2 separate regions of the Homo sapiens genome follow, and region 1 is linked to region 2. The links are contacts of gene promoters, found by promoter capture Hi-C in blood cells and fetal thymus (Javierre and others, 2016). All regions are on one chromosome and are shown on one strand. The core of a region is centred on a gene start or on the middle of the fragment in contact, and the rest is flanking DNA. Distances in the headings are between cores, read along the strand shown. Region 1 holds the start of ANAPC4 (anaphase promoting complex subunit 4). Region 2 holds the start of SLC30A9 (solute carrier family 30 member 9).

Region 1 (3,831 bases), core at 798-3,297, about 17 Mb after region 2:
TGCCTTCTAACAACACACTCATCATCATTTTTGGTGATTTCAAGAGCTATGATGTCCTGGCTTTTCAGCTCTCAATTACCTCTCCTCCAGTGATCACATCTTCTACTGCACTCAGCCACTCCCAGGGTCACACCTCCGGCCTGGTCATTACCAACAACTGCAGGGCCACCAAAATCTCCATTTTAAACTTCCCACTTTCCATCCACCACCCCTCTTTCCAGGTCATCTCTACAACACTCAACTCCAATTCTTTGACCTCACCAGGATACAGTCTATTGATTCTACCACCTGTTCACTGTCCCTCTCCCCACACATGCCTTCACTTCCCTCCTTCATCAGGTTAGAACCCAAAGTTCAGAAACACAATCACTCCTCTTGCACGTAACTTCAACTCTCTTTCATCTTTGCCTTGCTTTGTCATACTTGCAAAACGACAATCCTGGTTAAACCCAACCATGCCTGCACCCACACAGCCAAACAGAACGGAGAGAGACACATACAACCTTATTCAACCAGTGTCTCTCAAATAATAACACCGATCTCATGTGGGTCTTAACACTGACTGGCAATCCTATTAGGTTTCCCAAGTCCACCTGCTTTGTTAGCTTTTTCATACCTCTTCTTTCTCCTCAAACTTCCAATATATTCTTCTCCATCTTCACCCATAAACAATGCCCTTGCTTCTTCCTTCACTGAGAAAATGGATGTAACAGTGCCCTCTATCACGCCTACCCATCTGATTGCACGGATGTGCCTCCCGTCTACCTTCCCTCCTACTTCTGTGACGGTACCACCTGCTGCTCTCTAGAGCCACAACAGAGTTTCAAAGCATCCCGGCAGCGGAGGGAGACTAGCTAGATTTCATGGAGGGCCCTGAAAAATTAGACATCAATACCCTGGCGACTGGATCATGGTAGATAACATGGTGCAGACTACAGTCTGCAGGGTGCTAAGATTTCCTTATCACCTAGTTTCCAAATTTGGCTCTATACAACTCTCACATGGCCAGATAACTCTCAAGCCAGAGGCGGAAAGATGCACAGGTGAAGGTTTCCTTACAAAATGGCTGGCAGGTAATAACTCTCAGCAGAAAGTTGGGTACAACTGGTTTATACTCGATGAAGTTTTATGTGAACAAGAAATGCTGATAACACCCATGCACGTTCTGTCTGGAATCCAATGCATGCCTTCCTTGTCCAATTTAGAGGTATTTTTAGTGGAGGGTGGTTATCCAACCCGTACTATAAAACGTGGACAAGAGAAGCCAGGTTCTTAAATATATCCTGTGTGGCAGCTACATGCAGGCACATTTGCAGCTGAAGTTTGACAATAACTCTTCCTACTGCTATTAAAACTGTAAGCAAACTTAGGGCAGGGTCCCTGCATCTACCATTATGTCTAGCTCATGAGCAGCACATAGTGGGCTTTTTTAAAAAGTTCATTTAACTAATAAACCAATGAGTGAAGAAGACTTGGGGAAGCAGGATTGCGTGACGGTGTTAAGCTGTGTGAAAACTGTTACTTTAGCCATAAAAGTACCGAAAATAGCACAGACATCACCTTTCGCATATATACTTAAAGTTTACTGCCGTCCTGGGAGGCAGGGAAGGGGTAGCAGGTGGCCAGCCATGTCTGCAGAAGGGGAAACTGAGGCTCCGGCCGCCTGTGGCCCGAATGAACAGGCTCGGGCTCGGTGTTCTTGGGCCCCCCGGGAGCAGACCCAGCACAGGCGGGCTCCCGCCGGCTCACTCACCTCGCCAGCTGTGTTGGCCAAAGCAATGAGATCCCGCTTGGGCGACCAGACCAGGAAAATAATCTCCTGCGGGAGCTGCTTCTCTCCCACCACCCGGAAGGATGGGAAACAGGTCGGAAAACGCAACATGGGGACGGCCCTGCAACGACACCCCAGTCAGAGGCCGGCAGGAGCCCCCGGCTCTCCACGAGGAGCCCCGACCGCGCCTGTACCTGCAAGAGTCCCCACCGGCAGACTAACACGGCCCCAGTGGCCTCTCCCCTCCCTCTGCCGGCCGCGCGCCACAGCCTCCAGGCCGCCCCGCCCCGCCGCTGTCGCGCGCTCCAGGCACTTCCGGCGTCGGGACTGCCTCGCGAGAGGAGGAGGAGGGGCGGGGCGCGCACCGGTCTTGGGGGTGCTGAGAGCCAGAAGGGGCGGACAGGGACGGGGCGCGGTGGGCGGGGCAGGGAGGAGCGAGGGGCGGATCGAGGTGGGGGTAGGATGGGGCCCGTGGGCGGGGCAGGGAGCAGCGATGGGGCAGAGCTAGGAAGGGTGGGGCACGCGGGCGGGGCAGGGAGCCCCGAGGGGCGCGGAGAGGGAGGGAGCCGCGCGCCGGACCCAGGTGCTGGTGGGATCGCTGGGCGCCGGGACCTGAAAGGGCCCGAGAAGGGCGGGGCAGGCCCCTGCGGCCACACGCAGGTCTTTTGGGAACCCGTGTGTGCACGTGTGTGGGCATGCTTGCATACCTTTCCCGTTTTCCCGGAAATTCTCTGCTGTGGGCAAAGGGACGGTAGGGGTTTATGGGGTAGGCTTCAGCGACAACGGGGAGATGAAAAAGAATATGAACTTTAGGTCCTGATCAGCTGGCGCCTCCTCTAACAGTTACTAAGCGAGTAGTTCTCATGTCAGTCCTGGTGGGTCAGTATAGAATTTTAAAAGTCCCCCTGTCCAAGCAGCACCCCAAACCAATTAGAAGAAAATTAACCCTGGATGGGCCCAGTATTTACTAAAACTCTTTGGGTGATTCCAATTTGGAGAGAAGAGGCGCGTGCCCTAAAACCTCCCTAACAGGCAAATAATACTGTGACATCTCATCCCATTTAACCCTCACAACTTATTGGTAGTTGCAGCACCGTCATAACGAATAAAGAGTGTGGGCTCAGGGCCGGGCGCGGTGGCTCACGCCTGTAATCCCAGCACTTTGGGAGGCCGTGGCGGACGGATCACAAGGACAGGAGATAGAGCCCATCCTGGCTAACATGGTGAAACCCCGTCTCTACTAAAAAATACAAAAAAGTAGCCAGGCATGGTGGCGGGCACCTGTAGTCCCATCTACTGGGGAGGCTGAGGCAGGAGAATGGCGTGAACCCGGGAGGCGGAGCTTGCAGTGAGGCGGAGCTTGCAGTGAGGCGGGGCTTGCAGTGAGGCGGAGCTTGCAGTGAGCCGAGATTGTGCCACTGCACTCCAGCCTGGGCAACAGAGCCAGACTCCGTCTCTAAAATATAAAAAAAGAGTGTGGGCTCACACACGATTTCTTCTATAGGTACTTGGGCATTTACTATGTGGAGGAACTGAGGCTACAGCAATGCATGGGACGGGAACTCTGCCCAGAGGCTCACAGGCCAGCCTGGCAGACTTGTAAATCAGAACTCATCTGATGTTGCTTTATGTAGGACACATTTAAATGAGTCAACCTGTTGACAGTTCCCACAGCTATGACCTCCCTAAGAGAATGTGACAGTACCATCCTAGGGTTCTTAAACTTAAAACCTATGGTAGAAAGCCATCTACTTTTTACTACCTTTCACTTGTTCAAAGAAGAAACAGACGGCAGGTCCTTTAACTTTCAACAGGCCCCATCTTCTTGACCTCTGTCTGGATCTAGCCCCTGGGAAGTAGATGACGGAGGGAGACTAATTCATTCAGCATCAAGTAACTATTTTGTGCCAAGTACTGTTCTTAATCCTTGACTTTATACCTACCCTGCTTCCTGTCACGGGCTTTGCAGCCCTTGCCTTTGCCACAAACAACTTACCAAGTGCCCCCAACTCTTCCAGAATCAACATTTCTAAGGTAAAAATGCATTTGCCTTTGTTTTT
Region 2 (3,890 bases), core at 837-3,336:
ATCTGTGTTTCACAGACAGATGAGACAAAGAATACATAATTTTCAACATAATGACAGCTACACAGAAGAGGGATTACAAATTACACTGTTTCTTCTCCTTTTTGCCAACACTTAAAGGGCAGTTTAGACTAAATTTAACAGCCACTGTAATTTCAGTGTAAAATGCCAAAATTGCTTGGTCAATAGAAACAATTGTGTTAGAAACTTACTTGGGGATTCTGGAGTACAGTATAAACGTATGATTCATTTTTCTTTTTCTTTTCTTTTTTTTTTTTTGAGACAGGTCTCACTCTGTCACCCAGGCTGGAGTGCACTGGCATGCTCAAGGCTCACTGCAGCCTCAATTTCCTGGGCTCAAGCGATCCTCCCACCTCAGCCTCCTGAGTACAGGCTAGGATTACAGGCGCGCGTCACCAAACCAGGCTAATTTTTTGTAGAGAGGCAGTTTTGCCATGTTGCCCGGGCTGGTCTTGGAACTCCTGGGCTGAAGCGATCCACCCACCTCAGCGTCCTAAGGTTTACAATCTTCCTGAGGATTAGCAGCATGAGCCACTGCACCCAGCCGATGATTCATTCTGTCCATAAGGGAACCTGGCAGTATATTGCCAATATGGAAAAACTCAACAGTTACACTTTTCTATCACTACCAAAAAAGCCCTGGGAATAGTGCTGTTAAAATTTATCCGTTTGAAATTCTAAGATTCAGCTTTACATTTATTGCAAATAAAAGATACGAATATATTCTAATTTATATCCACAGCATAGTTACTATAGCTTATATTACATAAAATCTCGAATGACTGCAACTTCCGACTTCTTTCAGGAGGTCACGAACATGTTACAGGTTTTTTCAAACCTATGTTTTTACAGACAGCTCACTATGTTGCCAAGGCTAGCCTAGAACTATTGGGCTCAAAAGATCTGCCTGCCTCAGTCTCCCGAGTAGCTGGACTACAGGAGCGCACCACCACACCTGGCTTCGAACATGAATGTTTCGGTAAATACTCTCTGCATCCCAAGAATGGAGGGATTAGGTTAAGGGTGGACTTAGTTCTGTCTTCTCCCTCAGAGATCCTATCAGTTCTCAGTGTCAAGCAATGTGTGTCAAGCTACGGCAAAAACGAAGGTAAGCCTGATTAGTTCAATGTTATTTTGGAAACTCTCAAACCATTTAAATTTGAGTCAGAAAAGAATGTTGAGAGAGACGAAAATTCTCTTCAACCACCTTTTTTTCTGGGTTACCACTACAACTGCCACCTTTTCACCAAAAAGACTGCTCAGCCGAACTGAAGAGTTTCTTTGTTTTTCGGACCCAAACTGGGTTCATTCAATGATTGTCGGATACTTTCGTACTTCTTCCAAAAGATCCGTAGTGAGTAGCACCCCTCCTTCCTTTTAGAAAATTTAAGAAAATAAGTTGGGAGAGTAAGAAAAAGAAGGCCAAGAAAATCTCAACCAAGTGCTAAATGAAGGTGCGCTGGAAAGCTCCAAAGACCCTGGAACTTTGCGGAGTCCGCAATTTCCAACCGCGGAGGTGAGTAACCGCGGGACACCGCGATGCGCACGTAACATTTTGTTTGGTACAAAGCGGTAGGCTTCAGAGGTGCAATCCGGCCCGCGAGGTGCCCACAAGTTCCCGCGGGGGCCATGCTAGGGCTGCAGAAGGCATCAGAGTCAGAGACCTGTCAGGACCCCCGCGGGCTGCGCAGGCTGAACTGGAAAGGCGGAGGCCAGAAAGGAAGGTTCTGAGGTTGGCGAAAGGCAAGTGGGCGAATTGCCCCAGGCGAGGCGCCGAGCCCAGCCTGGCCCTCCAGTTCGGCTTCTACGGAGCCAGCGGCCAGCGCGGGACACTCACCCTGGCGGTCGCTGGGATTACAGGCCGCCGCCCTGCATCGCAGACGGAGCCGGCACAGGGAGGACCAGCTACATCTGTGGGCCGCGGCGGCGGCCAAGCCGGGTAACATCCTGGTGGGGCAGAGGCCCCTACTCGGACACCGCCTTCTGCCTCCGCGCCGCCACCGGTACCAACTGACTCCATAGACTGGACATCAGCGAACACCGATGGCTTCGCCGCCACAAGCTGCCTGGGTGACCCGGAAACGGCAACGTCATTTAGCGACGCCTGCCGTGGAGGTAGCGGAAGTGACGTAACACGTTGAGCACCAATAGGGAGGCCTTCCTTCCCGGGGACCCAGACTCCCAAAGTGGGGAGGGCGTGGCTGCAGGGGAAGTTTGGTGTCTGCCGTCTTCTTTTGCACCTGTACTTTTGCGCTTGGTTGGAAATCACGTAAACTGTTTACATCTTGTTCAGCCAGGAAAGCTGTCCTTTGGGAGTTCTACTTATTCCTTTTTTTCTGGACTCGAAACCGGGGCCGTGGTTTCGGAAATGGGAGGAAAGATGGGAAGGATGGACGCAGGTTTTCTGAGCCTCTCTACCTAGAGCCTGCCAGGATAAACCCAAATTAGAACCAACATGTCCAGTACTCTCCGAACGTCTGCCACGTACATCGTTCTCCTTGTTAACACCAGTGTGTATCCAGTATCATAAAGGCAAGTACACACTTCGGAATCAGCTACTTGCCCTACTAATCTGTGAACCTCAGATTTTTGCCTGCAATATAAGAGGTTTTATGTTCATGACAAGTTAGGGTAAACGGAGGTATGCAGACTTCGAAACATTTTGGTCCCAGGGAGAAAGAAACCTGAACAGTATCCACGTTAACTGTTTCTCTCTGCCATGCTCATTCAGCTCTTAACTCAAACTCAAGAGAGGCCTTCCTTGACCACCCTAGCTATGGTAGTCCTGGTCATTCTCTACCCGGCTGTCCTATATACTTTTCTTCAAAACGCTTATCACTATTTGAGATTTTTTTTTCTATTTTGTGTCCTAGAATAGAAAATAAGCATCATGATGCTGGAATCTTGTCTATTTTGTACATGGCTGTATAAAGCCGCTAAAACAATGCCTGGCAAAAATAAATTGAATGGAATGTATGGTGGTTTGTTTTAAAGTTAATCTGAGTCGCTTATCTATATTACTGCAAAATAACTATCTCGGGGAAATTTAGTATGTCCTTAATTTTTAAAAAAATCAACAAGTCTCTTATACTAATTGAGATAAGTATAACCAAATGAGGAAAGAGATTATCGTTAAGAATGGTAAGCAAATTTAATTTCCTATGACAAACATAACTTAAAATATTCAGTGGACAAACATTAAAAAATGATGTCCCATAAATGTAGGCTCAATATTACTAAAAAATCTGAATATTACTGGAAAGTTACTTTCCCTTTCTTGTAATAGATTTTAATAGAAATTCAACTTTATGAAGTAAAAATACATAAAGGCTTACCTCTTATTTTATGGTAACTATGCAAACATCTATTAACTTTTATGGATAATTCTTTTTGAACAAAACTAATCTCATATTTTGGATTCTTAAAATGGCTTTGGTTTCAACTCGTTTTAGGCAAGCCTGATCAAAACTTCTCAGGTTTTATTTTTAATTTGTGCGATAGGATTATTATTTTTATTTTGTTTAGCTGTACTAATCATTTTTAGAAGAAAATGTTCCTTTCTTGATAAAACTTTTAAAAAAAATACATTTTGTGCAGAGTTCTTAATTTCCATAACAGCCCACCTGATGTGTAAAATATGTTGGTGCACAGTAAAATTTCACAGTGTGTGCTTTCCTGTCCTTCTTTTTCCTGGTATAGTTGGGGTGTAACTTGACTTAGACACTACTAATTGTTATAAACCTCCAGTACCCTTGATTTGCCAAATAAGTTTGAAGAACAAAGTGTATCATTTTCTGTTACCTTAACTCTCACAATGCTGTATCACATAATAAAGCCTCAACAGACTTGGATTAAAATAACTCTGCAGTTGT

Evidence for each region. Contacts are between HindIII fragments. The CHiCAGO score rates a contact against its expected background, and 5 or more counts as called.
Region 1: a contact is called between the fragment with the promoter of ANAPC4 here and the fragment with the promoter of SLC30A9 in region 2, in 1 of 17 cell types (total CD8 T cells). The highest score is 5.2, in total CD8 T cells.

What each region holds. Positions count from the first base shown.
Region 1 is chr4:25,375,479-25,379,309 of GRCh38, reverse strand. It overlaps ANAPC4 (anaphase promoting complex subunit 4), which reads right to left and starts at 2,047. Exons shown (of 29, transcript NM_013367.3): 1 at 1,966-2,047; 2 at 1,754-1,892. The coding sequence starts at 1,882. RefSeq lists enhancers at 1,645-1,714, 1,745-1,804 and a silencer at 1,925-2,344. The HindIII fragment of the contact is 5,076 bases long and covers 1-3,831 here.
Region 2 is chr4:41,988,726-41,992,615 of GRCh38, reverse strand. It overlaps SLC30A9 (solute carrier family 30 member 9), which reads right to left and starts at 2,086. Exons shown (of 18, transcript NM_006345.4): 1 at 1,856-2,086. The coding sequence starts at 1,964. RefSeq lists enhancers at 1,915-2,054, 2,335-2,414 and a silencer at 1,986-2,205. The HindIII fragment of the contact is 8,038 bases long and covers 1-3,890 here.